Regions from separate parts of the Homo sapiens genome. Here all the other regions are linked to region 4. The links are contacts of gene promoters, found by promoter capture Hi-C in blood cells and fetal thymus (Javierre and others, 2016). All regions are on one chromosome and are shown on one strand. The core of a region is centred on a gene start or on the middle of the fragment in contact, and the rest is flanking DNA. Distances in the headings are between cores, read along the strand shown.

Evidence for each region. The method cuts DNA at HindIII sites, captures the fragments that hold promoters and counts their contacts. A CHiCAGO score of 5 or more calls a contact.
Region 1: a fragment that was not itself captured here is called in contact with the fragment with the promoter of SECISBP2L in region 4 in 1 of 17 cell types (M2 macrophages); the score reaches 6.0 in M2 macrophages.
Region 2: a fragment that was not itself captured here is called in contact with the fragment with the promoter of SECISBP2L in region 4 in 5 of 17 cell types (total B cells, activated CD4 T cells, naive CD4 T cells and 2 more); the score reaches 10.1 in total B cells.
Region 3: a contact is called between a fragment that was not itself captured here and the fragment with the promoter of SECISBP2L in region 4, in 1 of 17 cell types (erythroblasts). The highest score is 5.4, in erythroblasts.

Annotation. Positions count from the first base shown.
Region 1 is chr15:50,144,964-50,147,663 of GRCh38, reverse strand. It overlaps a transcript of ATP8B4 not described here. Among named protein-coding and RNA genes, the nearest start is that of ATP8B4, 27 kb to the right of the region's middle. The HindIII fragment of the contact is 5,521 bases long and covers 1-2,700 here.
Region 2 is chr15:50,315,539-50,318,238 of GRCh38, reverse strand. All of the region lies in intron 1 of GABPB1 (GA binding protein transcription factor subunit beta 1), which reads left to right. Among named protein-coding and RNA genes, the nearest start is that of GABPB1-AS1, 37 kb to the left of the region's middle. The HindIII fragment of the contact is 1,272 bases long and covers 680-1,951 here.
Region 3 is chr15:50,178,746-50,181,445 of GRCh38, reverse strand. It overlaps a transcript of ATP8B4 not described here. Among named protein-coding and RNA genes, the nearest start is that of SLC27A2, 2.1 kb to the left of the region's middle. The HindIII fragment of the contact is 1,833 bases long and covers 377-2,209 here.
Region 4 is chr15:49,045,141-49,047,840 of GRCh38, reverse strand. It overlaps SECISBP2L (SECIS binding protein 2 like), which reads left to right and starts at 1,395. Exons shown (of 18, transcript NM_001193489.2): 1 at 1,395-1,565. The coding sequence starts at 1,542. RefSeq lists enhancers at 929-1,058, 1,159-1,508, 1,799-1,938. The HindIII fragment of the contact is 1,178 bases long and covers 1,012-2,189 here.

The sequences.
Region 1 (2,700 bases), core at 138-2,637, 1.1 Mb before region 4:
TCAGCTTTTGAGCATGTTCTGATGTTCTGAAACAAAAGATGTTCCAGGATCACCTTGTGCTTCCCTTGACCCAGCCCTGGAATCAACCATTTCTCCGTGGGATCCTGCTTTTGTCTTTTGACTATGGTGTTTAGACATGGAAGCCAGGGTGCAGGTATACTCCTTCTGCAGGAGGGTTATTGCTTCTAGGCTCTTTCAATGGACAAAATAGGAAGTATATACTTTTTTTTTTTTTTTTTTTTTGGAGACAGTGTCTCTTTCTCTCTGTCACCCAGGATGGAGTGCAGTGGTGTGATCTCTGTTCACTGCAACCTCCGCCTCCCCAGTTCAAGCGATTCTCATGCCTCAGCCTCCTGAGTAGCTGGGATTACAGGCATGCAGCACCACACCCGACTAATTCTTGTAATTGTAGTAGAGGCAGGGTTTTACCATGTTGCCCAGGCTGGTCTTGAACTCCTGACCTCAGGTGATCTGCCCACCTTGACCTCCCCAAGTGCTGGGATTACAGGCGTGAGCCACCGTGCCTGGCTAATACATAGTTTTAAAGACCTCGAATTTGTACTGATACCTCTAACTTCGTAACCCAACACCAAAGAGTTTGCGTCTTCTTCCTTTACTCCATATCTCTTTTAAAAAACAAAAAACAACCCTCCCATAATGGGAAAACTGGTTCCCAGTGAGACAGCCAAGTGGGAAGAGGATCCCTGGAAAAACTCCAACTGGCTTGTGCACTGGGAAGAGTGCACACTGGGGTGGAGACACAGAAGTTCACAACATTTGCAGAAGGGTTCCTCTTCCTGTGTGGAACCTGGGATTCAAGGCTCCTCCTCTTCCTGTGTGGAACTTGTGGGTGGGAAGTTCTCTAGCAGGGACTCTGGCCTTAGGAGGATCCCTGTTTCCCCTTTTTTCCCTTTTACCCAATACAACCCTGCTTTACTCACGCTTCAAACCATCTATGAGCCTAAATGTTGGTGACCATGGGACGGAAAAGGACCCTGTCTTTAGCTGAACTAAGGAAAAGTCCTGCAACACCAGCAAGATCAATATGTTTATCTATTTGAAATTCTAAAACACACGCAAAGTAGTTTCAGAATTACTACATCAATACCACTACCAAAGACAAACTTACCTTACCAGGTAAAGTTCAAGGCTTTCTTAATTATTATCCTTAGAATATTCCCTGAGGGTGGCCAGTTAGAATTTCACATTCACAAGTTACTTGGAATAATTATTTTTCTTGTTCTGAATAATTACATTTTTTATATGATACATGCTTAGGTTGATTTGTTTCTGTTTCTGTTCAACTTAACAGTCCTCCCAGCCTGGTGACTAAATTTTATATTTGAAAATGTAGGCCGGGCGTGGTGGCTCATGCCTGTAATCCCGGCACTTTGGGAGGCCAAGGCAGGTGAATCACGAGGTCAGAGTTCAAGACCAGCCTGGCCAAGATGGTGAAACCCCGTCTCTACTAAAAACACAAAAAATTAGCTGGGCACGGTGGCAGACGCCTGTAATCCCAGCTACTCGGGATGCTGAGGTAGGTGAACCACTTGAACTCAGAGGGCAGAGGTTGCAGTGACCCGAGATCGCGCTCCTGCACTCCAGCCTGGGCAACAGAGTGAGACTCCGTCTCAAAAAAAAAAAAAAAAGTAAACATTTATGTGGTTCAAGAGTAAAAACTATATAAAAATATAATCAGAAGAGTTCTATCTTTTTCCATCTTTCTCATTCATTTTCATCCTTTTGCTTTAGGTAATCAATCCCATTAGTTTCTGGTTAATCCTTTCTGCATTTCTTTTTTTGCAAAAATTAGGACATATTCATATATCTTCTGACAAAGTAGCTTTGGCCAAATAGAAATATTGTCTTGCTGGGCACAAAGCACCAATTTTCAAAAAAGTTCCCAATGACTGAGCAAGCATTTTCTCTTCTTGGTGTACCTGAGTGCACCTGTGATAGTAAGAAAGAAAGAAAGAAAGGAAGGAAAAAGAAAAAAAGACATGGTGAGAGTGGCGGTGAAGAGAGTAGGGGGCCTAATTAGCCTTAAGAATTTATTCACATTTAGTAAAATTTCCACTAGATGGCAGTAACACTCCAAGAATAAGTTTCCTTTGTGTTCTGGGATAGGGTGACGCACCTACATGGAATGATGAGCTGTGGAGTGTGTTTAGGACAGACTCCCACCCAATGCAGAAATATTTTAAATGGATTCATTTTTCAGGTAATACCAATTTAACTTTTAAAATTAACTCTAAATCCAGTTTATCCCTCAGTAATGTAATATACTGAAAAAAGAAAGAGACTGATCCTGAATCAATGTATGACTGATCTGTGATTTGATAGCCTCTCAAATCAGACAAGATACTATAAACAGCAAATGTTAAAAAACCCTTAAGATTCAGTAAAATGTATTTTTATGCCCAGTGTTAATTAAAATCTCTTTATTGAATGCACTTTACCTCTTTATTTTTTGTTCAATTTTGTTTTATCCTGATTTTTAAAACAAGTAAAAAGTAGTCAAAGCCAAAAAGTAAACTAAATATCAAGGTTCATTTTAACTCAGATTAGGATGTGGTACATATAGCTGGGATTGTAGAGGTAATACCATACCCCTGGTTAACTCAATAGATCTTGCAAAAAGTTCTATTTAATATCAGTCACTGCTTTTCATGGCTCAGCTAGGCTTTAAGAACGAAATAT
Region 2 (2,700 bases), core at 66-2,565, 1.3 Mb before region 4:
ATTGAGAATAAGGGTCTGATTTTAAGATCAAAACTAGTGTTCTTTGGTAAATCTTTTTACTTTTTACTTGCTTCCTCTGCAAAGTGGAGACAATAATGATCTTGTTAAGGCCCTTTAGATAAAATGAGACAATGTAGATAAAGAGCAAGATGCTAGGGACTGTTTTTATTATTATTGAAATTGTTTTCTTATGAGACTGTAGGCAACTAAATTTGGAATATTTTCATACACGTACACATGATTATAGTATGCTAAATTTTACTTGGAGTCATATTTTACATACTTTTACTATGAAAAATGCTTTCAATAACTAATTTTTTTTTTTTTTTTGATACGGAGTCTTGCTCTGTCGCCCAGGCTGGAGTGCGGTGGCGCGATCTCGGCTCACTGCAAGCTCCGCCTCCCGGGTTCGCGCCATTCTCCTGCCTCAGCCTCCCGAGTAGCTGGGACTGCAGGCACCCATCACCACGCTCAGCTAATTTTTTGTATTTTCAGTAGAGACGGGGTTTCACCATGTTAGCCAGGATGGTGTCAATCTCCTGACCTCGTGATCCACCCGCCTCGGCCTCCCAAAGTGCTGGGATTACAGGCGTGAGCCACCGCGCCCAGCCTCAATATCTAATGTGGTGCATTAAAGGCTTTATTAAGCTTATCTGTAACCTAATTTTGAAAAAAAGCTTTTAAATAAAAGTTTTAATATTATATTAGTAATATATGCTTGCTATAAAAAAATTAAAACTTAGAAAAAAGTAGAAAAAAGGGAAAATTCATAGTTTTCATTACAATGGTGTATTGTTTCCAAGTGGTTTTTTTTTTTCTTTCTTTTTTTTTTTTGAGACGGAGTTTTGCTCTTGTTGCCCAGGCTGGAGTGCAATGGCAGAATCTCGGCTCACTGCAACCTCTGCCTCCCGGGTTCAAGCGATTCTCTGCCTCAGCCTCCGGAGTAGCTGGGATTACAGGCGTCAGCCACCACACCCAGCTAATTCTTTTAATTTTTTTATTTTTAGTAAAGGTGGGATTTCACTGTGTTGGCGAGGCTGGTCTTGAACTCCTGACCTCAGGTGATCCACCTGCCTCGGCCTCCCAAAGTGCTGGGATTACAGGCATGAGCCACTACACTCGGCTCCAAGTGTTTTTCTATTAAGATCATGGTATATATACAACTTAGAGTCCTGATTCTTAAACTGTTACATACTGTTTGTAAATATTTTCAAATGAATATATATAGTATTATTTTAAAAATATTTTTATCTTTTAGAGATCTGTACTGAAATATTAGAGATAATATTATATAATGTCTAACACTTGATTGAAAACAATGGGTGGAGTTGGGAAATGAGTCAGCCATTAATTGATAATATTAAACTAAATGGCTATGTGGGAGTTTATTATATGACTGTCTAGTTTATATATACTACAAATTGTTCATAATGTAAAAGAAATAAATCACTACAGTATTCCATTATGACATATCTTAATTTCTTTAATCATTGTTTGTGGTTGTTTTTTTCCTTATTTTAAATAACATTAGTATTGATATATTTAGATTTTTGAATAGTTTCCTTATGATGGGTTTATTTGAGTAGAATTACTAGGTCAAAGAGTATGAACATTTTAAAGACTGGGTGTGTGTAGGGATGTGTGTGTAATACAAAATTGGAGTGGAGAAAATCTTTAGGAGATTTATATTGGATTTATAATTGTACTCATTGAGCATAAGAATTATATAGCAAGTTTATTTTAAATTTTTAATGTGAGTAAAGGCTTATTAAATATAATAGGTGTAAACATTTTAAAAATTCATATTCTTATTTAAGAGTGCTAGTAACCATTCACGTGGAACTAGTACTTTATGCTTTTATAGAGTTTTCCTGTCTAGTACATGCCATAATCCTCACAACAACTCTATAAGCTGTAAATTACGGAAATTCAAAACAAAATAGACTAAGCTTTAACATGTAATTATTGGTAGTAATTCCTGTTACCACTAGATGGCCATCTTGGCATGTACTTTGAGCAAAAGTAGCTAGTTTGTATAATAGATTTATTATTAACATACATTTTAATTGGAGTAAAGAACTTATTTGCCACAGCAGAAAAGCAATATATTTTTGTTGTTAAACTAAATGATTTTTTAAAAATCTAGCACTTTATGTCTGAGGATTTTTGTTTGTTTTTGAGACAGTCTTGCTCTGTTGCCCAGGCTGGAGTGCAGTGGAGCAATCTTGGCTCACTACAGCCTCTGCCTCCTGGGTTCAGGGATTCTCCTGCTTCAGCCACCTGAGTAGCTGGGACCACACCCAGCTAATTTTTGTATTTTTTAGCAGAGATGGGCGGGGTTTCACCATGTTGGCTAGGCTGGTCTCAAACTCCTGGCCTCAAGTGATCTTCCCTTCTCGGCCTCCCAAAGTGCTAGGATTACAGGCTTGAGTCACTGCACCCGTCCAGAATTTTAATATATAGATATTGAACTGAGTAAATTAGTGACTTGACCTGGAGCTATGCTCCCCTTGGTCAATGTAGTTGTCTTATTACAACTGAGTTCTTCTAAGGGTCAAAAACTACGATGAGTGTGTGTGGTCCCTGTCAGGTGAGAATCAGAAGTGAAAATGCTACGATTTTGTTTTCATTATTTAAAACTTTACTAATTATCTTGACAAGAAAATCAGAGGACCTTTGATTTTTGTCTTGCTTGATCTC
Region 3 (2,700 bases), core at 44-2,543, 1.1 Mb before region 4:
CACACATTTAATAAGTGGCTCTGTCAGAGAATAGTATAGTACAGAGGACATTGAGTAAGTGGTATTGGCATGACTCAAAAACCATTTCTTTTAGAGGAAATGTGAACCTTTCTTTTAATTTGCCTTAGTGCTACTTCTGTACGAAGTGAATGCTCACTACTTGCCACTGAGGAGGGTCAGGATCTAAGTAGTGTTTTATTTTCATCCTCTACTGTCCTCCTGTGTTCCTCTATCTTAATTTGATACGATAAATACAGATAATGCTTATTCCTCCCAGACACGCTGCTAGGAGCTTCCCTATGTTACATTTTGGGAGCCTGAGTTATTTTATACAGGTGGCACTTTCATGCTCATTTACAGACAAGAAAGGGAAGCTTAGGTGAATTGAGACAGCCGGTAAGTAATTCGTGGGTTTTGGAAATGGTATCTGTTTGGTCCCGGGGAACCAACTCTTAGCTTATTCTTAGTAACTATACTATGCTGTCCTCCTATTCTCTAGGTTTCTGTCCATGTCCTCTTTTTTTTTCGGTGTGTGTAAAACACACAAAAATGTTTCACATTCCCTCCAGGCCACCCCCTGCCGTTTTTTAGCCTCCTTTTCGTATCCCTAGTAACTGCGCAAGCAACCTTTCCCTTTTCCTGACTTTTTCATTTCTGATCCAGCTACCTGGTTGCATCATTTCCCTGGGGATGAGCTGGGGGCCTTCATCATCCCTGAGGAGAAAGCAGTAGAATTAACCAAAGTGAGGGCCCGACAGAAACCATTCTCATGTGCACTTCTTTCATGGTGAAGCTCAGAGCCAGCCCTTCCTTTTTCATCCCAATGCCACCCTCGTCCCTTGATGGCTAATCGCTTCTGTGTAGCCACCTGCACCCCTCTTCTCTTTTCCTTGAACAGCTACTGTCTACCCAGAGTGCTAGATTACCACAAGGGTCCACTTTTTCCCCTCTTATTCTGAGGATCACTTTAACCTCAGTTACAAGTAAAAGAAAACAAGACCCAAGCTAGCTGAAGCAGAAACAGGAATTTAAGTAGTAACTGGAGAGTCCGGGGCTAAGACATCAAGGATTTTAAATGCTGACACCTGGATCTAGTTTTGCTTTCACTATTTCTCCTCTGCACCTCCTCTGTTCTCATTCAGGCTCTCTGGTTTTTGTCCAAAGATGGCTGCCAACAGCCCTTAGGGGTACATGCTTTCTGGCTCAACTTCAGAGAGAAGTACAGGAATCTTTTTCTTAGGAGTTCTCATAAAAAAAAAAATCCCTGACTGGATTATGCGCCCATTTCTGAACCAATGTCTGTGGGTCCTGGGGAAAAAGGTGCTAGTTGTTTTAAGCCAATCAGCGCTCACCCATGGGGGTGAGAGTATAATCAATTTCACCTAGGCCATTTTGTGGAACGTTTTACGGTATTATTAAAAAGTGGGGTTAGGGAGAGTAAATTTGGGGAAGTAATTTTCAAATGTCTATAATATATACCTTGGGAGTCCCAGTGATTCCAGCTTTGAGCCTGGGATCCAGCTCTTGCTTTATCACGAGGTTAATAGATGTCTTAGTCTGTTTGGGCTGCTATAACAAAATACTGTAAGCTGGGTAGTTTATAAACAACAGAAATTTATTTCTCAGACTTCTGGAGGCAAGTCTAAGATCAAGGTGCCAGCAGATGTGGTGTTTGGTGAAGGGCTACTTTCTCACAGATGGTGCCTTCTCACTGTGTACTGTTTGGTAGAAGGGACAAATTACCTCTCTGGGGCCTGTTTTATGAGGGCACTAATCCCATTCATGAGGGCTCTGCCCTATGATCAAATTACTCCCCAAAGGCTCTACCTCCTAATACCATCACATTGAGGGTTAGGATTTCAATATATGAATTTTGTAGGGGACATGAACATTAAAACCACAGCAATAGTCTTCCTGGAAATATTGCTGCCATCTTATATCTCCACTGCTCAATTATCTTTAGTGGTTCCCCATTGCTTCCTATTGTCTTCCACCAATGACATCTATAGACAGTTGTACTTGTACAGCATACTAGAACATACCTGGCCTAGAGTTGACCAGATGCCCTGGCTTCTGCCTGACTCCTTTGAAAGGTGATCGATAGCTTAGCACGTTGGCTGCCCATTCTTGGTACATCTCTTGGGAACCTCTGGTCTATAAAATGAAATTTAAACTTTATTTTCTGGCTCTTCTGAATCTCACTCAAGCTTTCACTACACTCAATTGACAAATATTTATTGAGTTTCTGCTATGAACCAAACATTATTAGGTATTAAATATTTTAAAATGGACCAAAACTTAATTCTAACTGTTCCTTTTCAAGCGCACTTTGTTTTTAGCAAGTCTGGTCTGCACACTCCTAAAAATGCCCTGCACCTTCCTCTTTCTACTGGCTTGTTCTTACCACTTTCCACCCCTGACCATCCTAACCCTGTAAATCTCAACTCTCCTTTAGGGCAGTAGTTGTTTGATTCCTGAATTTCTTAGTCCCGTGTTATATTTCGAAACCAAGTTAGGGACTCAAAATAAGTAACGACTTCTTAATTTTTCTAGTAAGAACAACCCCCTCCCCCATCACAGTATATTTGTTATTTTATAGAAGAATGACATTTTTGGCACTAAAAAAGTATACCTGAACTGTACACTTAAAAATGGTTAAAATAGTTAATTTTTATGTTATGCATATTTTACCACAATTTT
Region 4 (2,700 bases), core at 146-2,645:
ACATTTGGGATTCAAGAGGGTTTGGAATTTCATAGTTTCCATTAGAGATACCCAACCTGTATCAACATAAGTACAGCAAGGGGCCTTCACATAACAAGCCTCATATTGGAGTCTAATAACCAGACTAATAACCTAGACTAACTGAAAAGGCAATTAGTCTTTACTGATATCTCCTGAAGCATGACAAAGCAAATTTCTTAAAATCTCTTTCCCATTCCTAGCTGTGGATCTCCACACCAGTGCCCCAAACAGCAGCCACCTCAACTCTACCTTCACTTAAGTGTAATTTAGCTTATACAGTTGTCCCTAAGTATCCCAGGGGGGATATTGGCTCCAGGATCCCTGCTGATACCAAAATCCATGAGTGCTAAAGATCCTTATATAAAATGGTGTAGTATTTGCATACAATCCATGCATATCCTCCGATATACTTTAAATCATCTCTAGATTACTTATAATACCTAATACAATGTAAATGCTGTATAAGCAGTTGTTAAACTGTATTACTTGTATTTTATTGTTGTACTTGATATTTCTTTTTTCCTCAAAATATTTCTATCCGCAGTTGGTTGAATCTTCACAGAGGGTGTGGGTGTTGGAGGGTGTGTCTGAGGAGATGCCCAGAAGAAATTTGCCATGCTAACGGTAGTGCCCAGTTTCAAGACAGTCTCTGCCCTTAAGGAGCTAAGGATCTGAAGATAAAATAATTACCCGTTGGGTGGTGTTATACAGATCCTGCATAAAATTAGGATTTCTGAGATGGGCGAGGTCAGCCTGGATGTGAGCCTAGAAGTGGGCATGAACCTGGATAATGAATTAACTCTCAATAAATATTTGTGGGGAGCTTCCTAGCGGGCCTCTTCCAGTCATTCTGTGTATGCGTTTTACATATGCATTTTTCTAGGGCAAGACTCCATTATTTTCAGAATATTCTCATTCCTTTATAGTCATGACTCCCTTTATTTGCGTAACATAAGGAAGGAGCAGATGTACGGTGGGCAGATGAAAGCTTTTCCAACATCACTAAGAGGTGGTTTCAGATCCTGAAGAGGTCTTTGAAGTCCCGGGAGACCTGGGTCCCAAGTGGTCTGACACTTCTCGTTTAACAGTCGCAGGGGTGGCGTGTGGTTCGGGGCACCTGCTCCTGGGCGCCTCCACCTGGCCTTAGCCTCCAGGCCAGGCCGGGTTCCTCCTACCCTTGCTGAGGCCATTTGCTGTCACTCCGCCCACTGCCCCTCTCTGCCTCCTCCCCACTCCTTTTCCTTCCGTGCGCCTCCATTTCTAACTACGCCTCCAGCCCATTCGGGCCCTCCTCGGCTTCCGTCCCAGATGATCCCTCCCCGAAGCTGCCACCGCCTCCTCCATCTCCCGGAGCTGGAGCCGCCTCCTCGGCCAGTGGCGTAGCCGAATCGGTGTCGCGGCCAGCCAGATAGGGGCGGAGGTCCGGAACCCAGTCTGGACCCGAGCGGGGGGCCATGGAGAAAGCGGCCCGAGGCGCTGTTTACACCGACTAGCGCGGGCCCGTTGCGGCTGCAGGCACCATGGACCGAGCCCCCACGGAGCAGGTACGCGGGTTTGGGCTGGGCCCGCCGAGCCGGGGGTTGGGGTCGCCGCTTCCTCACAGGCCAGGCCCAGTTCTCCGAACGTGGGGACCGGGGGCCGGTCCTGCGGCCGCAGACCCCCTCACCTGGGAGCCTGGCAGCTCCCAGCTCTCCTTCATTGTTCCAGCTGCTGCCTGGGACTTGGGGGCTTTTCCAACCCTGATTACTTCCCAGGCGGAGGGCTCGCCGTTGCCGCTTCTCCCCTGCTTGGTGAAGGGGTCAGAAGGCTCCAAGTTGTCCCTGCTCTCCTGGGAGGAGGGCTTATAACTTCTAGTAGTCTCCCCGCTTCCCCCATTCCCTTCAGCTCTGGAATGTGTTTTCAAGGTGGAAAGGCGTTTGAAGGCTTCTCACCCAGAAAGACTGTAAGAGAATGTGTGGTAACTACAGATGAAGGGAAGTCACGGGCCTTTTAGGTCTGTGTTCAATGGAGCGAAGCATTGTTTTTGCAGTGGTTTTACGGAGGTGTTTCTTTTAAGAAACGATACTACGATTTCCCCTTGTCCTTTTATCCAGTTATTTTGCAAAGAATTGTAATTAGTGGGTTTTTTTTTAAAGCTAGCTCTATTTTAAGGGTGTAAAGCATAAGCTTATTTTCGAACCCGTTTTCATATTCGCAAAGTAGTCCTATTAGTGTTCTGTTTTATTTTTATTTGCATCAAATTCCTGATTATGCATGCTAGTAGGTGGTAGCAGGCAGGGATGATAACAGTGTTAAAAGTAATCGAAAACAATAGTTTCCCCCCCAGTATTTTCCACTCTTAAGATCTCTGCGAAACGACTTAATTTGAAGTCCAAGTTTATTCACTCTCTATTCCCTTCTTCGAAGGCCTTGCCCATTGATGACTAGATGACGGAAGAAGAGAGGCTAGTAATTTCTGCCTATTAATTTTACAGTTGGATAATTAGCACCTGAATTAATGAGATAAGATTTCCCAAATTCCTGTATGTGTCTATATGTAGTTGAAGCCGGTTTGTATTTTGAAATCGGACTCTTAGCAGGCAAAGCACAGCTTCCTAGTTGTGTATACTTGTTTTTACAGAAGACTTTTTTTTTTAAAAAAAAGCTTTATGTGAATGTAACTCTGAAGACACAAATGAG